7 separate regions of the Homo sapiens genome follow, and regions 2, 3, 4, 5, 6 and 7 are each linked to region 1. Evidence: promoter capture Hi-C in 16 types of primary human blood cells and fetal thymus (Javierre and others, 2016). All regions are on one chromosome and are shown on one strand. The core of a region is centred on a gene start or on the middle of the fragment in contact, and the rest is flanking DNA. Distances in the headings are between cores, read along the strand shown. Region 1 holds the start of RPP30 (ribonuclease P/MRP subunit p30). Region 2 holds the start of KIF20B (kinesin family member 20B). Region 3 overlaps KIF20B (kinesin family member 20B). Region 4 overlaps KIF20B (kinesin family member 20B). Region 5 holds the start of PANK1 (pantothenate kinase 1). Region 6 holds the start of IFIT1 (interferon induced protein with tetratricopeptide repeats 1). Region 7 overlaps KIF20B (kinesin family member 20B).

Region 1 (3,488 bases), core at 867-3,366:
CCTTCCTCCCTCAAATATTTACTGAGCATCCATTACTTGACAAGCCCTAAACTGGTGTTGAGCATACAGGATAAATAATATAATCCTTCTCCACAAGAAATTTACAGCCTAGTCTGTTGGAGAACGAAGGCAAATAAGGCAATTAAGCAAGTCATTGTATATAAATACATGTTTTTTATAAGTAAGGATTCTATGGAAGTACATAGCACAGTGAAACCTGGTGTAGGGGTCACAAAAGGCTCCCTGAAGAAAGTTACCCTTAAAAACAAAAAAAAAATCACAAGTATGCCTGTACCTTGGGCTTCACCTTGCACCCAGTTAGTCAAATCAACCAGCCACACCTCCTCCCTATTCTTCTTTACCACACTCCCAAATCTGCTCTAAACTTCCTTGTTATACCCATTTAGGATATCCTTTTGGCTACTAAACAATGTCCCTACCGTTCTACAGAAATGTCAACTAGGATCTGTTTCTCCACAAAACTTTTTCCTAGACTACTCCTCATCTGGCAGCTTAGGAGTACTTACTTCCCCAATCAGGCTTTAGGGTATTTTAATTTACACAGTATATTTCTGAAGCTTATTATTGGTTTCTTGTATCACATCAGAAACTGAGAACCAGGGCTCTGTCTTTCCTATTCTTTGCAAATGTCCACTATTTAGTTCCAGACTCATCAAATAGCAGAGCAGTCCTTTGTCTTTGACTTGTAAGTTGAGGCAACTTTATATGCCATGAATTCCATTTAATTTACAAACAAATAACCACTAACAATGTACATATATTACCACACCTCTTCCAAGTGTATTTTAAACTGGGGGAAATTCTCTAAAGAAATCATTATTAACTTTTCTTTTTTGTATTAATTTTTTTAATGTGTTCAGTTTATTCCACAAGCATTAACTGAGTAACTGCCATGTACTGGTGCCTGCAGAGTGAACGTGTTAAGCACAGTAAATAAAAGGATAAGACATGGCAATTCTCTTAGGAAGCTCATGATTTATTCAAAAATGGGATGGCGTCAGGAAAAGCCTCATTGAGGAGGTAATAATTGCGACAAACTACACCTAGGAAAACTTATTTTACAGGATCAAAGAACATTAGCGCCAAATGGCCCAGATCATCATGTCTACTTTCGTCTTCGTGCTGATGAGCAAAGTACCACAGAGATAACGTTCATTTAGTGGCAGCAGTGGAAAGGGACAGTCATTTCGCCACGGATACTTCATAAAGAGAACAATAAAAAAGTGGTGTGATTCACTTTGCCAAGAAGTGGTTGTCATTTCTAGCACCACCTCTGAACAGTATCAGTAATCAGAACTCACAATGAGCTGAAAACTGTCTCTGAGGAGCAGATGTTACTACACGAACCTCTTGATTCTTTTTAATCTCTCTATTCCAACACTTTACAGTCTACGGAATACAGAACCCATGACTAACTCCAATAGTTAAAACAGGTTCTCGTCTCTCAAGGCTTTCGCTTCCCTTCGATTTGGGCCATGCTATCCTCCTCCTCCACCTCCACTCCGCTGTGTATGTCCTCTGCCCCCACCTACCCTCTCTCTGTCTAGATAGTATTGTTCCAACACTCCCACGTCCTCCTCCTTCTCCGAGCCTCCACGGCGCTTCCTGTCCGTGCCCCAAATTCCAGTATTTGTTTAGACACTGTCGTGAGAATCAGGAAGGGCTGATAGTAACTTAGAAGCTTAGAAGATTGTACCCTTGGAGTCCAGCTCCGGCTTCTGTCACCTATCAGCTGTAGGCCCCTATGCAAATCCCTCGCCCTCGTTAGGCCTCAGTTCCCTCATTGCAGGAAAGTAGCTGAACCAGATAACAACCCCCAGAACCTTCGAGTTTCCCGCGCTAGGAATCAGACCAACACCTCGGCGGGCATCAGCCTCCAGGGACATCCCAGAGACTCTGGGAGACCTGACCGAGACCCATCAGGAAATAGTTACTCCGGAGTGTGGCCCGATGGTCTGGGTGGCATGAGGTTGGCCAGGCGCGAAGCCGGGGCAACTCACGGTGAGCGGCTGTCTCCACAAGTCCGCGCAGAGCCTTCAGGTCAGAACCCGCTCGCAGGTCCAAATCTGCAAACACCGCCATGCTGAAGTCCCATGACCGTCCGCGCGCGCCAGTCTGCGCAGCCGCTGAGCCCGCCCCTCAGGCATGCTGGGAGCTGTAGTTAACCTGCGCAGTCCGTCTCTACCTCCAGTTGACTAGGGATTCGGAGAAACTTACTTGCTTTGCTTTCATCTACCACCAGAATTTGTGTGTTGAAATCAACAGCTTCATTTCAATCTCTCTTTGTCTTCTTCTGAACGACAATGTTTGGTTCCCCCTGGAGGGGTTCCAATTCCCAACTATTCAATACTCCTATAAAATAGTGTAGAAATGAATTCATTCAAAATGCACGCACACGGTATCTACTTAGTGCTGCTCATGAATCAGAGAATTCTGCTAATGGGTGAAAACGCTATTTAAAGAGTCTTAAAGAACACGTTTTCCTTTCCTTTCCCTAAAGTCCATTCCGTTGTTTACAATGGACTTACCGGGAAGAAGGCGTTTGTGTGTGACGGACTCTAGGACTTCAAAAGAGAACTACCCCAAGACGAGGGTCTTTTTACCCAATCAGAACTGTTGATGTCAAAGCCCGCTATTCTCTGTGGCAGTCAACATCTTCAACCACAAGATGGCGGGACTCGCTCTAGGACGAGCGGTTAGAGCCAACATTGATTTAGCCAAAGACATGTTTGAAAAGGGAGGTGCAAAATTGAGATGTTTTACACTTTTCCAGCTGAGAAATGTACAAGGTGACGCATATCCCACATATCTGATGTTTCCACTTTTTTCCGACTTAGTGTAAATGATCTATTGAGGATAATAATCAATTATACTACAAAAGTGTGACTATAGTTTACATCAGTGCTCTCAAACTACCTGTGATGAAGGATCAGTTTCTCCCTCCTTTTCCTCTACCCCCAAACTCTTCGCGAACCAGGATGTGGTCCTTTATGCATTACCAGTAAGCAGCCTGGCCTCATGGGAATCACAAATTTGACAACACTCGAACTGCCCTATACCTGGCTGAATAGAATCTGCTGATCAGGAGCTTGGATTATCAGGACAATGCCAAAGTACTGTAAACTTTCTAAACATCTTCACTTTTTGTTTGTTTGTTTGTTTTATTAACGTGCGCACAGCAACAACAATCACAGAATTAGAGGCTCGGTCATTTGACCTAGGGAGTATCCTAGTTGGTGGCCTGCTGAGTTTTCGTTTCGTTTTGTTTTGTTTTTAGAGAGAGTATCTCGTTATTGACCAGGATGGACTCTAACGCAAGCAATCCTCTCTCCTAGCTGTGATTACAGGAGCCCACCCACATGCTTCACCCATCAATTTCTCTTATTTACTGATCACAAACAGTTCACAGATAGTCTCTCGTCTATGGACCACACCTTAACTAGTACTCCTTTATGCGATTTTCTTGT
Region 2 (3,560 bases), core at 301-2,800, 1.2 Mb after region 1:
CACCTGTGGCTTCAAATAATAATTTTTGGTTTAAAGAAAAGTGTTGATAAATCTTTTAAATTGCTGAATTAAAAAGAATATTCCTATGTACTAAAAGCAGTTATAATAAAGTATTTGTTCATATGCTCATTTTTCAATGAACAAACTACTTCCTAGCATTTCTAAAAGTGTTCAGACTTACTGTAACTTCTTGCGATTTTAGATGACTTCTACTTATACGTGGCCTTCCCAACTAAACTGGAAACTTCTTGATGGCAAGAACCTTGCCTTATACCACTCTGTATCCCCTATAACAAATTCAGCGACTTATGCAGGGATAAAGACTACCTAATGACTTAAAATAATGGTTATAAAGAAAATACTATTCCAAAAAAAAAAAAAAAAGTCGGTCCTAGTCTGTAATATTATCTTTCGTGACAGCAGGCTCCAAGACCTCATTTTTCATTTCAAAAGGCTGCTCTGACTGGAAAACTGCATATTTACCCTCTCTCCAATAAGAATCCACAATTGGAGACTTTGGTGAAAAATAGCAGAATCTGTTGCTGAATGAGGTTTCTGAATGTGGTCTACAACACAAAGCCTCAAAAAAAGTCTTCACAACTAATCGATGAGTATTTTATGTTATTTTTACAATTTAAAATCTGGAGTCTTGGACATGTAAGATAAATACACTGTTACACTACCTAACCCATAAGGCGTGAACTTCTGTAAACTAGTAGTTTAGCAAGAAATATAAGAGAACTGTGCCAGACATGCATCACTGAACCAGCGAGCGAATCGAGATGGAGAAAGCCTTCTAAACTGGGGAATGACAGCAGTCACTGTGCCACAAACTCTTCAGCCTGGCACTGCAAAACCCTAGAAGGGCAAGCCCCAAGGACCAGTAGGAGTAGTCTGGAAATAAGTGCACAGAGGCTACCACAGGGCTCCCCCCGCAAAAAGGCCGTGTTACCTACCAGCCGAGCAAACTGCTCACCTCAGAGCTTCAGAAAACTAGGTGTGGCAAAACAGGCCTGTTCCTCAACAACAACAGAAGCAACAACAATAATAATATTAATAACTGCAAACATTTAGTACCTACTGTGTGCCAGCACTAATAACTTTACACATTACCATTTAATCTTCACAAAAGCCGAAAGAAATAGACACTTCATTGCAGCCTTTTAACTGATAAGAAAACTAAGGTACAGAGAGAGATTAAATGAATTGTCTTGCGTCACTCAGCTAATTAGCAGTGGAGGCGAGATTTAAACCGTAACCGAATTAGTATGACTCATTCCTCGCTGCGTACCCCGTGTTCGCATCGCTCCGCAACCCAGTTCCTGACAGTAACCTCCACTGGGGTATGAGCCCTGTCGGAACATGTCCACATTGCCAAAGCCGTTTCCCCACCTTAGGCCCCATACATGCGCAGTCACCCACCTCCTTCCCCACACATTCCCGCGGGTCACCTCCTCACCTGCAAACTTCGCCTGACTAGCCAGACCCGCGAGCAGCACTGCGATGTTACCGTTTTCAAATTCAAACAATGGCGGCCAGGGCACCGCACTGAACGCTGGGAGTAGGTGGGGCGTCCAGAGCTCCGCCAGGGAGCGTAGCCGGCTCGCGCTGCGGGCTTTCCAGTGGCTACCGGAAGAAGCTCTCCAATATGGGGGCGGGTCTTGAAACGCGGGCAGCCAATGGGCGGAAGCAGGCGTGGGCCGCCCTGGTGCTGACGGTCTGGTTTGCCTCCCAGCTCTGCTAGCCGGGCTTTAGTAGTGCGCTTTCTCGCGGCTGTCATAAGTACCACGCTGTTGACTGGGACACCGATCTCCAATTCTGTCCTTGAGGCAATAAAGATGTGGCGAAGGCCCGAGGTGAGGCCACTGCCACTGCACTTAGTCCTGCGACTCCCCTAAGGACGGGCCGAGGAATGGCGGGCTAGCCACTTCCCAGTCCTGTCCCTACGGGGCAGAAAAAGGCTCGGCATCCCGGGATCCGGAGGGTCACTTCCCTCGCTGCATCCCCATTGTGCAACTGCCAGTCTAAAAATTGATATAGGTAAGCTTATGAATGCTAAAACTAATGAATGCAAGATGCTAAAACAAACAATTAACTGAAAGGTTGTAGGGAAGAGGATGTTAGTATCTCAAAGAATCACCCTACAGATCATTTCTTATTATAAAGGGAAAATAGAATTTTACACTGAAGAGATTTATTAGACATACCTTAACCAAGTGAAGATACTTAGCATCGCTAATATCACCCGATAGTATTTGTGCTAGAAATGTTTGACATTAATCATGAGGAAACAATCAGAAAAAAACAATGTAGAATATTCTACAAGACAACAGGCCTAGGCTCTTCAAAAATGTCAGTGTCATGACAGGAAAAAGAAAAAAACGAAGTGGAAAATTACTTTAGTCGAGAGTCAAAAGAAACCAAATGAAATTTGTGAATCTTGGCTGGTTCATAGTTTTTAAAAAAAAAAAAAAACTTCGAAAGACATTTGTGGACAACTGGGGAAATTTAAATATGAACTACATATTAGATGATATTGAATCAGTTTTAAATTGATTGCATGTGAGAATTAATTTGTGATTAAGTGGAAGAATGCCTTTGTTTTTGGAAGGCGCTTGCTAAAGTAATTAGCAGCAAAGTGTCACAGTGTTTGCGGCTTACCTTCAAAAGATATGGCAAAAAAATAGAGAAAGCAAATGTGGCAAAATATTAGTAATTGGTGAATCTAGTTGAAGGGTATAATGGTGTACATCGTACCAGTCTTGCAACTTTCTAAAATAACAGATTTTATAAAATAAAAAGAGGAGGGGGGAAAAGGAATAGAATTCTGATCTTTACCATGGCCTCCCAGGTCCTGCACAATCAAGTGTCAGCCGACCTCACTCCCCACTAACTGTACAGTAAGTTGATCTGCTCTGGATACCTCAAACACCAACTTCTTTCCAGCATGTATGAACCTTTGCATGGGTTGTTCCCTGTACCTAAATTCTCTCTTCTCCATTCAACACGTGGCACTTCCCTTCATCATTTAGGTTACGTCTAAAATAGTACCTTCTTAAAGAAGACTTTCCTGGCTACTGTATCTCAAGTGAGCACTCTTTTTTTATTTGCAGGTTCAATTTCATTTTTATACTTTTTACAACTAGCAATTGTTGTTGTTCCCCCACCCTGTAAAATCTAAGTTCTGTGAGTAGAATAACTGTGTTTTGTTTGGTCGCTAATGTATCCTCAATGACTCTCTAACACAAGACAAGCAAATCAATATTTGTTGAACAATGAATGAAAGCTGATGTGGCTGGGTAGAGACCATGGGGAGGAGTCAGGGGAGTGAATCTGTAGGCATGGGCCAAGGCCAGACCCTGTAAGCCTTAGCCAAGTTACTGACTTGAGTATTACGAAATGCTTACTGGATAACCAGTTTTAAGCATGGGCATGGTGCAATCCAATGTGCATCTATCTTTTGAAAAGGTTAATCTCCTGGAGAAACTAGAGGCAGCCAGGGAGGATGCTGTTGAACCAGTTAGGAGGCTGTTGCAAGAGATCCCAGGAAAAGATAATGA
Region 3 (3,669 bases), core at 12-2,511, 1.1 Mb after region 1:
CTCCTCAAAAGCCTCTAGTTTCTTTCACACAGCCCAGAGCACACACAGCTAATTGTGCAGTAAGGTATCTTCAGCAACTTACTTGTACGTGTTATTTAGTAATAGTGGATAAAGAGAATAAATAAGTGGACTGTGCTGCCAAATACCCACCTCTATTTTATTTCTGGAAATTTCAAAACTTGTCGATAGAGGTTCAGTTTGAAGTTTGTCAGGATCTGCTGAACTAATACGTTTGGGCTTGATATCCATGATTTGTGTTTCCTAAAGTAAGGAAATATTAAAGCAACAGGGCATTGTAACCTGAAAATATATTGAAGAAAACTTCACATAAAGAATATAAAATCAAGATTTGTATGAAACTAAACAATGGAAATTACTAAGTAAAGACACCTTTAATTACCACCTAGCCCTCCTATTTCTCTTTCAACCTCAGATACTCAGGAAAGGCTGGGTCACTTTCCAGTTTATTGACTCTGATCTAAGGAGAAATTTGAAAGACTGCTTGCAACTTCCAAGTGTTCTGCCCACATTCTCTTGCTTTACTTTCATCGCAACTCTGCAGGTAGGTCTGGCAAAAATCATTATTCCTACTTTCCAGATGAGGAAATAGAGAACGACACACGTTAAATGGCATGGTCAAGGTCTGTACTGAGTTAGAATTGCTCAGTATCCCAACAGTTGCTTTTGATAACACAATTTTGAAAAACTGGAGGCTTCTCAGGAATGCAACTATAGCATTACAGTACAAAAGACCATAAGGAAAACTAAATCTTTTCTTGCAGCACATTCTTCCTCCTATTTTCTCAGTCATAAAGTTCTATTTCTAAACTCTACTTAGGCGATTTATAAAGAAATAGATTACATTTTTAAACTTAATAAACTGTAACACAGACCTCCTCATCACAGCCATCAAAATCAAAAGTCAAGTAAACCTCTTATGTCACCTCCCCATTACTGCCAAATAAGAAAGACTCTACTGAATTCATAAAAGGGAAAGTAACTAGCATATATTGATTTCCACTGGAGTAAGAACTGTGCTACTTGTTTTACAATCTTCATTAATTTCACAACTCTGTTAGGAAAACACTATTACCTGTTTTAGATAAAGATCAGAAATGTTAAGTAATTCTTCTCAAAGGTCCCAAAACCACAGCGACAGCAGTTGATACCTAGTTTTTCTGACTTTCTAGGATATATTATTAAACAACACAATACTACCTCTTTTTAAAGCAAGTAATCTCTCTTACAATAATAGTCTTTTGATGTGACACACACATACATATTTTTCCTATTGTCTGAAGGCTTTAAAGCAGAAGATTTTTAAGTACAGATTATTCCAGAAAGACTAGCTTCAGATGTACCCAGATTCTATTTACTGGGAAGCAGCTATCTGTAAAAGGCAATTCTCTCCTCTTTCAGGATTTCCAGTCTCAAGGTAATATAAAAGTAACAGCTGAATGACTCATAATGTCTCTCTACCATTAGGCTTACTTTCAAAATAATTTGTATCTTTATAAAATAAAGTTAAGGATGGGCCCAAGTATTCAAAATCACCAAGAGTTCATGTTGAATCACATTTCCATATTTTAAACGCAGACTGGGGACTAAACCATAAATTGTTGATTTTCTAATTACTCTACCAAAGTAATTAGAAATACTAATATTTTCTAATTACTGAGAGATATAACCAAAATATTGGAGAAAATGCTACATCTCAGTCATTGATTGACAAATCAATCTTAATGATAAATTTCAAGACTCTAAATCATGAAAAATTTCCACATTTTAAATACTCTGATTCCTTTTTGGTCTATTGAGACTTACACTTTTTTATTCTTTAAGAGTTAGTCAATTAAGTAATTACTATGTTCAATTAAAAAGGCATAGCAAAAAAGACTACTGACTATTTTAGAAGTCTCTGATATGATCCTTTTTAGTTGTTCAATTTCATTATCTTTCTGTACATTACTGGATATCAGTGCTTTTAGCTGTATTTCTAAAGCTGCAACCAGTTGATCTCGTTCTTCTCGCCACTTTTGAAGGTCACTATCTTTCTCTGTCAGCTGGGCTGTCAGTATTTCCTAATCAGGAAATAAAGAAAATATTAAAATCAACCTTGATATATTATGAATCTAAGAATGTTTAGAAATTATTATATGTAACACCATAAATATAGCTGCAAACAAGATTACAAGACAAATTAAGTAGTCTAGATAAAATATTTAACTATAAAACAACACATATCATTTTATAAATTAAATGTCCATGTTATTTTTATCCATATCCCATCTCATTCCAAAAATCAGCTTACTGGTAACTTCTTTCAATACACAATTACAGCTATAGCTTTCAAACTAGTATCAACATTTCTGCCAACGTTTGGAAAATTAGTGGGTAAAATTACAGTAATAGCAACAAACAACAGAAAAATGAAAACAGAAAACAAGACCATTTACAATAGGTTCAAAAATCATGAAATACTGATAAAGAAAATGTATAAAACCATAAAATACTGCTGAAAGAGATTAAAGAACACCTAAATAAATAGAGAGATTGGTCTGTGTTGAAGGATCAAAATACTCAATATTGTTAAGATGTCTCCTCCAAATAGATCTAGAGAGTAAAAGCAGTTTTTATCAAAATTCAGGTATGTGTGAATGTGTGTGGAAATGGAAAAGGTGACTCTAAAAATTATATGGAGATGCAAATCATCTAGAATACTCAAAATTATTTTGAAAATGAAGAACAAAATGACAGCAATTATCTATAATTTCAAGTTAGCACAATAATCAAGACAGCATGTAAAGACAGAGAAATCAATGGGACAGAAGAGACGATCTACAAATGCATGGTCAACTGACTTAAAAAAGTGGCAAAAAAATTAAATAAAAGGAAGGACAATCTTCCCAATAAATGGGGCTGGAACAACAGAATAACCAAATGAAAAAAAAAAAGAACCCCAACCCTAATCTTACAACACATACAAAATTAACCCGTGGGCAAATGATTTACGACAAAAGTGGCACAGCAGTGAGAAAGAAACAGTCTTTTCAATAAATATTTCCACATCAATTGGTAATTCACATTAAAACAAACATCAAGAGCTTTGACCACTATCTCACACCAACACAAAAATCAATTCTAGTATCTAAATATGAAAGATAAAAAACTTCAAAGCTTTCAGGAAATAATATAACACACCATCTTCAAGTCCTTGGGCTTCATAAAGAAAAATATTGGGACAATTATCTACAATAATACTAATAAAATTATCTACAATAATTGTAATATCTACCATATCTACAATAATAATTTATGAGAACTCCTACTCATAAAAAGGCAGTAAGAAAGAAAAAGCAAACTAGAGATAGAAAGAAGGTACTTGCAACACATTACAAAAAGGGCTTCTATCCCGAAAAGTATAAAGAATTCCTACAAATAAGAAGCTAGATAATCCAACAGAGAAACAGGTAAGGGAACTTGTATAGGCACAGCCAATAAACAAATGAAACAATCTTCAACTTCATCAGTAATTAGGGAAAAGCACATTAAAACCATTTTAAAAACTGACTGACAATACCATACCTTGGTGGGACTATACAGCTACTGCAACACTAGTTGGGGTATAAATGGGTACAACTGCTTCGAAAATCAGTGCAGCATTCTACT
Region 4 (3,366 bases), core at 162-2,661, 1.1 Mb after region 1:
TGAAGAATGCATATGAAAAACTCAATTTCTTGTTCCATTATTTAAGAATCTCAAACTTTTTAAGTTCTCTCAAAAAAGAATTATCATAACATCTATACATAATAGGGAAATAATTACCAAGGAAAAATCAATAAAGATATTCTGAGAGAAAAATACTGATTCAAATTTCCAAAGTTTATTGAGTAATATAATCCAGGAATACAAGAAAAACTTTAAAAGCTAATAATGACATGCAGGGAAGAAAATGGAACAATCACAAAATCAAAAGGTACCCACGCAAGTGAAGGTCAATTGATTTCTGCTGTTGCCGGTAATCTAATGCCATAAACGTAGGGAAATCGAGGTACTATGGACTAATATATATATTAATTTCTCACCCAAAAAAGCTAATATAGGTACATCCTTATACTAGTTTCCATCATACCAACCCCCTCTGAAACCTTTCAGTACATCTTGCCAGGATTTCCAGAGGGAAGTTATCTAACTGGCAGCAGAGCCTTCTCTTCTATTCCCTTGTGGAGCTTTACTGCCAAAACTCCATTTTCACACTCGCTAGAGAGCTCAAAAACGGAAGGAAATTAAATGAAAAGATGCCCCATAAAAAGCATAGAGAAGGCCGGGCATGGTGGCTCATGCCTGTAATACCAGCACTCTGGGAGGCGGAGGCAAGTGGATCACGAGGTCAGGAGATCGAGACCATCCTGGCTAACACAGTGAAACCCCATCTCTACTAAAAATACAAAAAACATTAGCCGGGCATGGTGGCACGTGCCTGTAGTCCCAGCTACTCGGGAGACTGAGGCAGAAGAATTGCTTGAACCCGGGAGGTGGAGGTTGCAGTGAGCCGAGATCACGCCACTGCACTCCAGCCTGGGCAACAGAGTGAGACTCCGCCCAAAAAAAAAAAAAAAAAAAGGCTTGAAGATGCCCTTATTATAGTAGCTCAGAGTGGTATGGTTTCAGAGGATTCTTACATTGTTTTAAGCTTTATGTTCCAATAATACATACATGATAATCACATATTCATAATATTTGCTAATTTTGTTTAAAAAAATGAGGCTTCAAGTAATAAACACCATCTTCATCAACTATATAACTAACAATAATAGAGGCTATGTGCTGCACAAAGATGCATGTAAGGACTGCCTCGGTTTCCATTCTGGCTCTAGCACTTACTACTGAGTGAACTTAGACAAGTCTTATTAAGACTAAGACAAGTGAACTTAGACAAGGACAAGTTCCCCCTTATCCACAGGGGATATGTTTCAAGATCGCCAGTGGATACCTGAAACATTGGATAGTATTTCAAGATCCCCAGTGGACAGTATTGAACCCAGACACCATCAATCGAAACACACTTCTGTTTGCATCCTCCACCCACAAATTTAATGCTTTTTCCATCTTAGCTAAGCAATTATCATGAATTGTGGCCATAACTTTTGCAGTGAGGTGCACCAGCAAAACTAACATAAATTTCTTTTTTCTTCTTCGCAATTTCACAGATGGAAGATTTGTTCTTACCATAGATCTTAGCAACCTCAGATTACAATTTTTTTTCTTTATTTATTAAGTTAAGAACTTTTACCTTTTCATTTAAAGGAAGCCCTTTACAACAACATTTTGGCTTATCTGAATTGCCAGCATCACTACTTTTGCATGTTGAGACCATTATTAAGTAAAATAAAAGTTACTTGAACACAAACACTGTCCCTGATACCATGACACGTGATCTGATAATTGAGATGACTAAGTGATTAATAGGTAGCACTAACAATGTGGATATGCTAGGCAAAGGGATAATTCTAACTCCAGGCAGGACAGGATGGCACAAGCTTTTGACCCACTACTCAGAATGACCTGCAATTGAACTGTTTATTCCTGGAATTTCTATTTAGTATTTTCAGCTCATGGTTGGCCACAGGTAACTGAAACCACAGAAAGCAAAACTGCCAGTAAAGGGAGACTACTGTATCCCTCAATGTCTGTTTTCTTATCAACAAAATGGAAGTTAAAAACAGTGTCTATACCCGATATTGTGTGAGGATTAAGATAATATGTCAACTCAGCATAGCAGCTGGCCTAGATTAAATTGCTATAATTATTATTATTTGCTTTAAAACTACACATTTGAGAAATAGAAAATACTTTTAATACCCATCATTAGAGTAATGTTAAATAGTCATCTATATGAGGAGGGAGCCTCAACCACCTGGCCACAGACAAATACTGATCCATAGCTTGTTAGGAACTGGGCCACACAGCAGGAGGTGAGCGGCAGACAAGGGAGTGAAGCTTCATCTGTATTTACAGCCACTCCCCATCACTCACATTACCGCCTGAGCTCCGCCTACTGTCAGATCAACAGAGGCATTAGATTCTCATAGGAGTGCAAACCCTATTGTGAACTCTGCATGCAATGAACCTAGGTTGTGCATTCCTTATGAGAATCTAATGCCTGCTGATCTGCCACTGTCTCCCATCACCCCCAGATGGGACCGTCTAGTTGTAGGAAAACAAGCTCAGGGCTCCCACTGATTCTACATTATGGTGAATTGTATAATTGCTTCATTATATATTACAATGTAATAATAATATAAAGTGCACAATAACTGTAATGTGTTTGAATCATCCTTAAAGCAGCCAGCCCCTACCCTGGTCCATGGAAAAATTGTCTTCCACAAAACCAATCACTGGTACCAAAAAGGCTGGGGACTGCTATCTATACTTGAAAAGAGATACCTCTATAAGTAGCAATAAAAAAGACTTTAACAATACAATAAATTTAAAAGGAGCTAGGGCATGGTGGCACACCTGTAGTCTCAGCTACTAGGGAGGCTGAGATGGGAGGATCACTTGAGCCCAGGAGTTCAAAGTTACAGTGAGCTATGATCACGCCACTGCACTCCAGATTGGGTGACAGAGTAAGACCCTGTCCCAAAACAAAATAAATAAACTTAGAAAAAAGAGCCCCCTTTTAATCACACCTGAATTTATGCTAATGAAATAGCTTTGAGTGGAGGCTCCTTTGAAATAGCTTAAGGGTAGGGCTACTCACCAAAAGACCAAAAATGATTAGAGTTGGAAATTTCAGTCCCACCCACCAAACTCTGTGGAAGAGAGGAGGGTTGGAGATTGAGTCATGAGAACTATTGTACAGTGAGGTTCAGAGAGTGTCCCACTTGGTGAGCACACTGAGGTCTTAGGAGGGTGGTACACCCAGAGAGGGCACAGAAGCTCTGCACCACCCTCTGTCCCCCTTAATCTGTCCTGTGTATCCCTTCTATTTGTCTGTTCTTGAGTTGTATCCTTTATAATAAACCAGTAAATTTTTTTTAAATAAGTAAAAATAAAAACTACATACTTTAA
Region 5 (3,256 bases), core at 463-2,962, 1.2 Mb after region 1:
AATGAGGGAACAGATGCATGGTATAGTTACAAAATGATAAGGAGTCATAAACAGAGTACAAGGAGTAGGAAGAGGGTATGGCAGGGAGACCTAATGTAGCCCTAAGGGTCAGGGAACATTTCTCTAAATATGAGAAGTTAAAGAGGAGATCTAAAGTTGGAGTCTAGTAGACAAAAGAGGTCTTAGAGAAGAGACTTCTCTAAGGCAATGGAAACAGCAGAATGTTGTTTAAGGAATTGAAGGCAGCACAGGGAGCCCCTGATGAGGCAGGAGAGGTAGGGAGGGGCCAGATCACCTGGGTTTTTTTCTCTGTCTTTAAATAGCATAAGGTTAGGGAAGCTAAGAGAGTTGAGATTTGGAGTTTAGTCCCACCTTTGCTCTTAATAACCTCAGCCATCTGTCTGCAGCTCAGTTTCCTGATACGAAAAAAGTATGCAAGAGTGGATAGACCAGAGTGCTCCAGTGGCCCCCATGGTTCTCAAGCTCTGATTCTAGGTAAGGCTCTGCTGGAAGGAATTGCCAGATGCAAGCCCTAGATGCTGCTGAATGCACTGAAGCCCAGGGGCCCAGCAACCCAGTAGCCAGCCAGCACCTGCCAGACTCTGACTCCTCTGTAGATTAATTGCAAATCACGGAGAATATCACAAAATAAATCACACAATAAATACGGCTGTAAGCATGGTTTGTTCCCCTGTCGAAACAAAGGGTGAACTGCTAATCATAATAGCGTAATAAGGAAAACTAGCTTTCTGAGCATTTACTGTGTGCCAGGATTGTACCAGGTACTTTTAGTAGATTTTCTCACAACAGCCCCATTATGGATAGGAAAGTGAGGCCTCAAGAGATTGCATAACTTTGGGAAGGTATTCACCACCCAAATTAGTCCTGCATAGTGAGCATGGACAGTCCCGTTTCCTATTGCTAGAAGTGTTACCTTGAGCATTAACGTTATCTGGGTTTGCTCAGTGGCTGAGTTGGAATTTGAACCCAGTGCTAACTCCAAAGCTCGTAGTGCTGGTCACCACGTGATGCCGCCTTCCCTTCTTAGAAGAGGCAACTCCTTACTCTATAAATAACATGACATTGTCTTTTGAAGTCCTTTCTGGGTGAGGAAAGTGCTTTTTATAGCATGGAATTGCTCCTGTTTACTTGATCTCTTTCAGCACCGATTAATCCTGCCTACAGTTTTGTCCTTCACTGTCCTTACACTGTATTCCTAGGTTTCCTCCCTGCAAAAGACAACTCCATGAGACCACATGGTGTTTGAGTGTGTGTGCGTGCCAGCAAAGAAATTTCACTCCCCTCCCTCCCCAAGTCTGCCAACTTTTCTATAAATAATTGTTCTCCCTCCCCTCAGGCCTCTAAGTAGTTTGGTCACTTAACCAAACGCACAGGCACACACGCGCGCGCGCGTAAGCACACACTCACAAAGCGGGGAGGGTAACGTGAATGACCTTGCAAAGGTATCTTGCTCACTGGGGACAGGATTAGCAAACCTGACACCTCTGCAAATAATTGTCTTCCTCCCGTATTCCTCCTGAAACGGTTCGCTCCTTTCGCTGTCTCTCCCAGACCCATCTGGTTTTCACATCGCCATACAAAGCCCAACCCGCCCATCTCCTCTCTGCAAGCCCAGAGAACTTGATTCCCCATGTTGAAACTCGTCGGTGGCGGTGGCGGGCAGGACTGGGCATGCTCAGTGGCGGGGACCAGTCTGGGAGGCGAGGAAGCCGCGTTTGAAGTCGCGCGGCCTGGGGATCAGGGGAAGGCGGGCGGCGGGAGCCCCGGCTGGGGGTGCGCGGGGATCCCCGATTCCGCGCCCGGGGCTGGCGTGCTCCAGGCCGGCGCCGTGGGGCCGGCGCGCGGGGGGCAGGGCGCAGAGGAGGTGGGGGAGTCGGCAGGAGGAGGGGAGGAGCGCCGGGTTCGCCATCCCCAGGCGCCGGCTCTGCGGCTGCTGAATCGGAAGCCGCAGGGAGGATCCGGGGAAATAAAGACGCCGGAGAATGACCTCCAGCGAGGCCGCCTGAGCCGGGGCCCGCGCACAGCCCCGCCAGCCCCCGGCATGGGCGACCGCAGCGGGCAGCAGGAGCGCTCGGTCCCGCACTCTCCAGGGGCCCCCGTGGGCACCAGCGCCGCCGCTGTGAACGGGCTGCTGCACAACGGCTTCCATCCGCCGCCAGTCCAGCCGCCGCACGTCTGCAGCCGGGGTCCAGTGGGCGGCAGCGACGCGGCGCCCCAGCGCCTCCCGCTCCTGCCGGAGCTGCAGCCGCAGCCACTGCTCCCTCAGCATGACTCCCCGGCCAAGAAATGCCGGCTGCGGAGGAGGATGGACTCGGGGAGAAAGAACAGGCCGCGTAAGTCCCGCTGGGAGGGGAGCGCGGGCGCAAGGCAGACGCAGCGTGCGGGGCCCGGGACTGGGAGCGGCTGAGGCAGGCGCCGCAGCACGCCCCGTGCGCCCCCGCGTCTGCGGTCGAGGGACTGCACAGAGTAGGTTCCCGGGACTGATTCTTTTCCTAGGGGACATCAAGCACTACAGGTCTTTGCCTGAGCCTGCCCTTTGCTCGCTTCTATCAGTAGAACGAGGATTGGACACGAAGCTTGAGCGGGTCCCTAGGTCAAGGATATATAATAAGCGAACGCTCTGTCCGCCCTTCTAATTGGTGGCTGGGAAAACGCAGGTGTGTGAACATTTGCTGGGGTCCAGGAGTGAGGATAAAGTGGGCGGCACACCGAGGGTGCTCTCTCCTTTCTCACCCCTCTCGCTTCTCTGAGCGCGTCCTACTGGGGTTGCCTGCCCTTTGAATCACAGAGTAGCCAGCAGCGTCTCGGGTCTATTGGAGAGCGCAAGTCTGGAGGCGTGGAGTTTAACTACCCCCCAAAATCACAGCCTATTAGAAGCTGTTTCTTCACGGCCAATGAGAGGGTTTTTTGGGAGGGACACACCCACTGATACCATGTGGGCCGGAACTATGTGGACCAATGAGGATTGGAGGTGGATTTTTTTTTTCAACGAAGGGGGAGGTTGAGTTGAGGGTTTGTAATTGTAATGTACACCGGAGAAAGCCGAAGTGCATTATTTCACAATCTAAAGCTTGTATATATAATGGTAGTTTGTAAAGTGTACCTTCCCCACAGGACGCTGTGGGATGTAAATTTGTAGGTCGAGTTTACAGCTGGTTTTTCTTGACTGAAGCTCATTCAACTGGTTACTTCTTTGTGGGTGTCTTTAATGAAGCTTATAAATGGCAAAAAGCAA
Region 6 (3,634 bases), core at 855-3,354, 1.5 Mb after region 1:
ATTGTATACTTTAAAGTAATTAAAATGATAAATTTTATTTTACATGTATTTTATCACAATAAAAAATCACATTGCTAACCTGAATAAAATTCAAGTTTTATATATATATATATATATATATATATATATATATATATATATATATATATTTTCCTGTAGTACATATTGACATAAACATAAAAGCAGGAAAACATAAAAGCAAATGAGTTTGCCATCTGAAATAATCACATGAGCCCCCACTGACACCCTTTGGGAAACATTGATTTAAAGGTTTAATGAAATATCATTGAATGTAGAGATCCTGATCCATATCTCAAAGCTACCACTTATTGTCTGTGTGATCTTAACATTTCTAAATCTAAGATTCCTTATTGTAAAATCAGGATCATACAGCCATGCACTGCATAATGATATTTTAGTCCACAAAGGACCACATATTTGGTGGTGGTCCTATAAGATTTTAATGCCACAATTTTGCTGTACTCTATGTTTAAATATGTTTAGATAAACAAATACTTGCCATTGTATTGCAGTTGCCTACAGTATTCAGTACAGTAACATGCTGCACAGGTTTATAGCCTAGGTGTGTAGTAGGCTATACCGTCTAGGTTTGATGTTTGCATAATGATGAAATTGCCTAACAGCTGCATTTCTCAGAGTGTATCCCCATTGTTACACGATGCATGACTGTGTAAGTACCTGCCTTATAAGTATCTTTTGAGAATTAAATGGAATAATTTACATAACACTTTTAGAAGCCAGGCTGTCACTTAATACGAATTCAAGAAGTGATAACTACCTTTATAACATTTAATATTATTATTATTTTAATTATCAGTACCAACTCCATCTGTTTACAGAGGAGGGTTCATCATAGGCCTGTAATGTGCATTTTCTGGAATTTTTACCTCTTCAAAATTTTGCCAACTGGAGCACTGAGGGGAAAATTTACAAATCAGTATTAAGTAATGGATTTTTTGTTTGTTTGTTTGTTTTTGAGACGGAGTCTCGCTCTGTTGCCCAGGCTGGAGTGCAGTGGTACAATCTCAGCTCACTGCAACTTACGCCTCCCAGGTTCAAGTGATTCTCCTGCCTCAGCCTCCCAAGTAGCTGGGACTACAGGCATGTGCCACCATGCCCAAATTTTTGTATTTTTAGTAGAGATGGGGTTTCACCATGTTGGCCAGGATGGGCTCCAACTCCTGACCTCAGGCGATCTGCTCACCTTGGCCTCCCAAAGTGCTGGGATTACAAGCATGAGCCCCCTTGCCCGGCCTAAGTAATGGTTTTTAAATCAGCTGAGAAATTCCCACATTAGGCCCTTTAGGTAAGGAAGATACGGATCTTCCCAAGCAGATGTGGATCATCTTCAGTCAAGGACGTACCAAGAGCCTAGATTTTCCAGGGAGGAGGCAATCTGTTTATCTTAAGCTCAGCCTGATTGCGAAAACCTGTTGTAAGAGGCCAGCAGTGCAGAAAGTGAGACCAGAAGCCTATGGAGGAAGGCTGTGAGCTTTTCCTACCACATCTCCACTGTATTACCCACAAGACATCAGAGAGGCTGCAAGACTGAGGCTTTCACATTCTTGTGGGTCCTGCTTTTTCTCTGTGGTAAAGAACCTGCAGAAAGCAATGCCTCTACTCAGACAAGCTGTCCATTCCTTCCCCATATCAGACAGAAGTGAATCTGATGGGAAAGAATCTCTCAGATTGGGATCATTTTCTCCCTTCCTGCAAAACTCTTTTCCCATTTCCCTCCCCTTCTTTGGGCTATAGCATGAGGTAAGCTTCCTCAAGTTCATGCTAACAAACATAAAAATGCATTAAACAATTTATGTATGTGTGAACGTGCACACACATGCATGCACACATTCAGTCCATAAGCAGATACTCAAATCGAGGAATTAGAAAACCTGACCTCACTGAGATCTAACCTGTTGAAATAGTATTTAATTACCATTTTTTCAAAAACTTTAGACATTATGGCAGAGGAGCAAAGAAATCCTTACCTCATGGTTGCTGTAAATTAGGCAGCCGTTCTGCAGGGTTTTGCTTAGCCAGGCTCCTCTGAGATCTGGCTATTCTGTCTTGTGGATTTTCAGTTACGTTTAAACCCCAAGACAGTGTTATATAAGGGAGCTAAACAGCAGCCAATGGTGTAAGCTGTGGGTGTGTCCTTGCAAGTTGGAAACCTAGGGAAACCGAAAGGGGAAAGTGAAACTAAAGCTAGCGGAATTCCTGCTGACGGGGGGGGGTGGGGAATGAAACTTTGTTTCTATTTTAAAACAGATAAACTGCAGACCTGCAACCATAGATGTTTCTAGTGCTGCAGAAACCCAATGACTGGCCAGCATTTGGAACGAGATTCACGTCCTCCCTAAAGAACATCAGTCCATTGCTGCCTATTGTGGCAGTTGGTGGCTGGATTCTGGATGAATACACAGAAAAAGGAGAATTGAAGGAGATAGCTCTATTTTCAGTTTCTATATTTAGAAGGAACCTACTATCAAATATAAAAATCTACTCTTAATTAATTGAGTAACAAGGCTTTTGGTTGCTGGTTGCTTTTTGGTTGCTTACTTTTGGTTTCAGCTTGACGGAAATAAGCAACCAATCTGGTTTAGGAATGAAGGAAAGAGACCAATACCTAGAAAGCCTTCTAACCCCTGATGACTTAGGCAGGAGGTAAAAGCAAGGAGGTATGGTTTGAAATAGAGAGCCCTCTATTGCTCCATCATGGACACTGTCATTCTGAATCAAATTCCAGTACAACCTCCACTACAGTTCATGGAATTTGAGTTTAAATAGTTAGCAACTACCTGGCACATAGAAGCATGCAAATAAGTGGTAACTATTATTATTATTATTTTCAGTCATCAAGTTAAAAATAATGATTCTTGGCTGGGTGCGGTGGCTCATGCCTGTAGTCCCAGCACTTTGGGAGGCCAAGGTGGGCGGATGACAAGGTCAGGAGATGGAGACCATCGTGGCCAACATGGTGAAACCCCCTCTCTACTAAAATACAAAAAATTAGCTGGGTGTGGTGGTGTGCACCTGTAGTCCCACCTACTCGAGAGGCTGAGGCAGGGGAATTGCTTGAACCTGGGAGGCAGAGGTTGCAGTGAGCCGAGATCACACCACTGTACTCCAGTCTGGTGACAGAGCGAGACTCCGTCTAAAAAAATAAATAAATAAAAAATAAAAAATTGTTGTCCGGGTGCATTGGCTCAGGCCTGTAAGTCCCAGTATTTTGGAAGGCAAGGCGGGAGGATCACTTGAGCCCAGGAATTGTAGACCAGCCTGGACAACATAGGGAGACCCCAACTCTACAAAAAAACTGAAAAAAAAAGCTGGGTGTGGTGGTGTGTGTCTGTGGTCTCAGCTACTCAGGAGGCTGAGGTGGGAGGCTCACTTGAGCCCAGGAGGTAGAGGCTGCAGTGAGCCATGGTCACACCACTGCACTCCAGCCTGGGCAACAGAGTGAGCCCCTGTCTCAAATAATCATAACAATATATAAAAACAATGTTTCCTTTAAAAAAACCTACCTACTTTGTCTTTTAACATAAGAAGCAGAAGAGGAGCAGGTGCAAGAGTATTTTCCTTTTGGAAACACTTAACTGGGCACACTGCCAGA
Region 7 (3,500 bases), core at 494-2,993, 1.2 Mb after region 1:
TCTACTAAAGATACAAAAAAAACTTAACTGGGTATGGTTACGCATGCCTATACTCCCAGCTACTCAGGAGGCTGAGGCAGGAGAATCGCTTGAACCCAGGAGGCAGAGGTTGCAGTAAGCCGAGATCGTGCCATTGCACTCTAGCCTGGGCAACAGGGCAAGACCCTCTCTCAAAAATAAATAAATAAATAAATAAATACTATAATTGGACAGAAGCTAAAAAAACAACCGTTAAATCTTATTTATTTATCATAATAACAAGACGACAAACAATTAGTGTTTTTGAAGATATGGGATCATAGGTACTTGGTAGATATTTTTAACACTTGTACTTGAGACTGCAAAATAAAGGTCTGATGGAATACATAAAATCACTTAGTGAAAGGATACTCACATGGTCTATAAGTAACACCCCACAGATAATATGGTTTTGCAATACAGATCTGAAATACTGTTATCTTAACCAAGTGAGCAAAACTTAGCATCTCTAAGAATGGAAAAATCAGACATCATGTGGCTCTTGGTGTGATGCAATGGAAAATTTACAACTTAACCTACATAAAAAGCTTCCCTAATGTATTAAACCTAAATCATGAAGAAATAATCAAACAAATCTAAATTGCAGGTATTCTATGAGAAAACTAGGACCCACTTTTCAAAAATGTCAGTGCTAGATTAGAAATGATTAAAGAAACACAATAATCAAAAGCAATGTGTTAACTCTGGCTGTAGACAAAAACAAAGTGGCTATAAAGAACATATTTGGAACACTGGGGAACTCTCAATACAAACAGTATACGAGGTTATATTAGTGTATCAATATTAAATTTTTTGGGTATGAAAATTTCATGGTCTTGTGATCATGATGAAAATGCCCATGTTCTTAGAAAAATATGTTCAAATATTTAGATGTAAGGTGTCATTATGTCTGGATCTTATTTTCAAATTGTACAGACCAAAAGATGTGTATTCACATACTCATAAAATGGTAAGTGGAGAATCCAGGTGAAGGATAAATGAGTATTCATTGTACTAGTCTTTCTATAGGTTTGAAATTTTTCAAAATATAAAGTTGAACACAAAAACTTCAGTGTACTGTTGAAAAAAACTGAAGAGAGAGAGCCTTAAGATTTAACCTTAACTTCAGAATAAGAAGACAAGCATAGAAGTATGAGTTCTTAATACATACTCTTTTCTCCTCGTGGCTAATGAAAGCCTTATTTTCCTCTAATGTTTTATCTAGATCTTCATCAAGAAGTTTAGTTTCCACATTTTGAGTTTCTTCAGCGTTTTCTAGCTCCTCAACCAAATCCTCGTCTTCCATCAAATCTTCTAGACTATTTTCCCATGAAATGGTGGCTCTTTTTACATTTAATATTTTACTGTTTGAATTACTGTCTAGTGATACATCTTGAGAAGATTTGACAGGTCCAAATAATTTCTCTTGAGAGGAATTTAAAGTGTCTGGGACACAAACCTGTTAAAATATTCAATGTGACTTTTAAAACAGAAAAGACAAGAACTGTCCACTAGAAAATGATTATTTTATAAATTTAAGTCAAATGAACACTCAAGTGTTAAGGAAAAACTATTCAAACAAACATACAAACAGGAATCACCATCCCTAAAAGAACATTCTGATAGGAAAAAAGCTACTTACACATGTAAACTAGAGGAAAAATCTATCTTCCTGGGCTAAGTGTTCAGTATTAATCTTAGCAGAGGGTTTTCCAATCACCCAGAAGTACCAAATGAACAAGATGAATGGCAGAGCAGACAATTCATTCCAAAAATACTCATTAATTTATAACTGATGTTTATTACTAATTCTTATTACTAAAGGTCATTTTAATCCTAGCATGGGCAACTTTCAATCCTTTCTCATGTCTTCCTACTTGGTTAAATATTTACCTTTTTAATTTTCAATTATTTCCTAGGCTTACAGTATTAAGTAAAAAATATTTATTTCAAGAAAAACTGTTAATATTCTAATAATAAGAGGCTTAATAAAATAAATATTTACTTTTTGTGCAATGGCGGAGAACTTCAATACATTGAGTGTTTCATCATAGGCTAAATAACATTGGCTGATATTGACAATCATACAAATTTTCCCTTTACCATTAAAAAAACTTTGAAAATAGTGAGTCAGTTTACTTTCCCGGAAAGGCACATGCTGTTGAAACCTACAGAAAAAATTTTCAGAAAACATTGTAAGTTAAAAAACATCTCATGAAATCAGGGTGCTGAGACATTTTACAAAGAAATAATTAAGCCACCTATCATGAAATTAAACTTTAGGGTAGTGATTAGTTTCAGATGTAATAGTCCTTCTCAGTTTTCTTTTTATCTTTTCTTGTTTGTTTTTGTTTTTGTTTCTGTTTTGAGACAGGGTCTAGCTCGGTTGCCCAGACTGGAGTACAGTGGCACAATCAGAGCTCACTGTAGCCTCAACATCTTAGGCTCAAGCGATCCTCTCGCCTCTGCCTCCAGGGTAGCAGGGATTACAGGTGCCTGCCACCACACCTGGTTAATTTTTTTATTTTTATTTTTAGTAGAGATGAGGCTGGTCTTGAACTCCTGGGCTCAAGCAATCCTCCTGCCTCGGCCTCCAAAAGTGCTGGGATTACAGGCATAAGCCACCATGCCTGGCTGTTTGTTTTAACTGCTGCTACTTACTAACAATAACCCACTATGTAAATTATAAAGAAAACCACATTTAACTGGGTTATGTTCCCTAGTATAGAGCAAGTATATAAGAGATGTCATGAAACACCCTAAATAGAAATGGTGAAGGCTGATTTATATTTACTCAGCCTAAAATGCTAATTAATGTAAAAATCTATTGCATCTAGAACCACACACAATGCATTAATAAGAATAAAGTGGTTTTAGATCCTAAACCAGCATTAGAAGCTTCTCATTTACAGTGTCTATTGGTATAGATTTGCCATGGAAAATACTGACTTTACCTGATGAGTTACTGGCATCAACTGACATTTCTATCATTGTCTTTAATCCAAGATCTCTTAAGTACTTGAATCACAATCTATACACAGTCATTACATAAGAAGCAGTTTAAAAATCAAAAAAGAACTTTCTAAAAACAAAAAAGTTGAAAGTTTAAATATTGTAATATTTAATATGCTAATAACACTTTCAGAAACACTTACTTTGACTTTTCACTATTCTTCAAGACGTTAATACACTTTCCCAGAGTCAATAAAGAAGTGTTGATATTCCCAGTCTCTCTTAACCTTTCACCTTCATTCTGTGTCTTCATAGTTCGTTCTGAACCAGCAAGATCACATAAAGATAATCTGAATTAAGAAAAAAAAAGTACTTTAAAAGTTCTTCAAAACAATTACAAATAATTAAATTTAAAGAATATTCAACTTACTCACTGACTCGAATTACACGAGACATTTCAGAATCTTCAATCTGTAATATTTTAACAGTGAATATGCTGTGACTGAAATACAAAGATCAAATGTTATCTT

The links. The method cuts DNA at HindIII sites, captures the fragments that hold promoters and counts their contacts. A CHiCAGO score of 5 or more calls a contact.
Region 2: the fragment with the promoter of KIF20B here is called in contact with the fragment with the promoter of RPP30 in region 1 in 13 of 17 cell types (total CD8 T cells, naive CD8 T cells, naive CD4 T cells and 10 more); the score reaches 8.9 in total CD8 T cells.
Region 3: a contact is called between a fragment that was not itself captured here and the fragment with the promoter of RPP30 in region 1, in 2 of 17 cell types (total B cells and naive B cells). The highest score is 6.9, in total B cells.
Region 4: a contact is called between a fragment that was not itself captured here and the fragment with the promoter of RPP30 in region 1, in 1 of 17 cell types (total B cells). The highest score is 6.2, in total B cells.
Region 5: the fragment with the promoter of PANK1 here is called in contact with the fragment with the promoter of RPP30 in region 1 in 8 of 17 cell types (M2 macrophages, M0 macrophages, non-activated CD4 T cells and 5 more); the score reaches 12.3 in M2 macrophages.
Region 6: the fragment with the promoter of IFIT1 here is called in contact with the fragment with the promoter of RPP30 in region 1 in 1 of 17 cell types (non-activated CD4 T cells); the score reaches 5.1 in non-activated CD4 T cells.
Region 7: a contact is called between a fragment that was not itself captured here and the fragment with the promoter of RPP30 in region 1, in 2 of 17 cell types (M2 macrophages and naive CD8 T cells). The highest score is 5.1, in M2 macrophages.

The regions. Positions count from the first base shown.
Region 1 is chr10:90,870,602-90,874,089 of GRCh38, reverse strand. RPP30 (ribonuclease P/MRP subunit p30) reads right to left here and starts at 2,116. Exons shown (of 11, transcript NM_006413.5): 1 at 2,022-2,116. The coding sequence starts at 2,103. RefSeq lists enhancers at 1,806-1,865, 1,996-2,265, 1,984-2,278. The HindIII fragment of the contact is 10,238 bases long and covers 1,705-3,488 here.
Region 2 is chr10:89,699,580-89,703,139 of GRCh38, reverse strand. It overlaps KIF20B (kinesin family member 20B), which reads right to left and starts at 1,550. Exons shown (of 33, transcript NM_001284259.2): 1 at 1,460-1,550. RefSeq lists enhancers at 872-1,388, 1,389-1,904 and a silencer at 1,949-2,028. The HindIII fragment of the contact is 4,302 bases long and covers 1-2,047 here.
Region 3 is chr10:89,757,118-89,760,786 of GRCh38, reverse strand. It overlaps KIF20B (kinesin family member 20B), which reads right to left. Exons shown (of 33, transcript NM_001284259.2): 27 at 1,905-2,081; 28 at 151-261. Among named protein-coding and RNA genes, the nearest start is that of KIF20B, 57 kb to the right of the region's middle. The HindIII fragment of the contact is 3,836 bases long and covers 1-3,179 here.
Region 4 is chr10:89,740,249-89,743,614 of GRCh38, reverse strand. All of the region lies in intron 21 of KIF20B (kinesin family member 20B), which reads right to left. Among named protein-coding and RNA genes, the nearest start is that of KIF20B, 40 kb to the right of the region's middle. RefSeq lists an enhancer at 2,030-2,531. The HindIII fragment of the contact is 847 bases long and covers 988-1,834 here.
Region 5 is chr10:89,643,698-89,646,953 of GRCh38, reverse strand. It overlaps PANK1 (pantothenate kinase 1), which reads left to right and starts at 1,712. Exons shown (of 7, transcript NM_148977.3): 1 at 1,712-2,354. The coding sequence starts at 2,063. PANK1-AS1 (PANK1 antisense RNA 1) reads right to left here and starts at 2,840. Exons shown (of 5, transcript NR_184344.1): 1 at 2,755-2,840. RefSeq lists silencers at 1,709-2,188, 2,889-2,938. The HindIII fragment of the contact is 3,186 bases long and covers 1-2,599 here.
Region 6 is chr10:89,391,093-89,394,726 of GRCh38, reverse strand. It overlaps IFIT1 (interferon induced protein with tetratricopeptide repeats 1), which reads right to left and starts at 2,104. Exons shown (of 2, transcript NM_001548.5): 1 at 2,010-2,104. The coding sequence starts at 2,014. It also overlaps a transcript of LIPA not described here. RefSeq lists enhancers at 1,375-1,424, 2,226-2,275, 2,506-2,555 and a silencer at 3,108-3,269. The HindIII fragment of the contact is 1,915 bases long and covers 1,790-3,634 here.
Region 7 is chr10:89,717,396-89,720,895 of GRCh38, reverse strand. It overlaps KIF20B (kinesin family member 20B), which reads right to left. Exons shown (of 33, transcript NM_001284259.2): 10 at 3,401-3,472; 11 at 3,174-3,320; 12 at 2,024-2,186; 13 at 1,190-1,477. Among named protein-coding and RNA genes, the nearest start is that of KIF20B, 18 kb to the right of the region's middle. The HindIII fragment of the contact is 2,350 bases long and covers 569-2,918 here.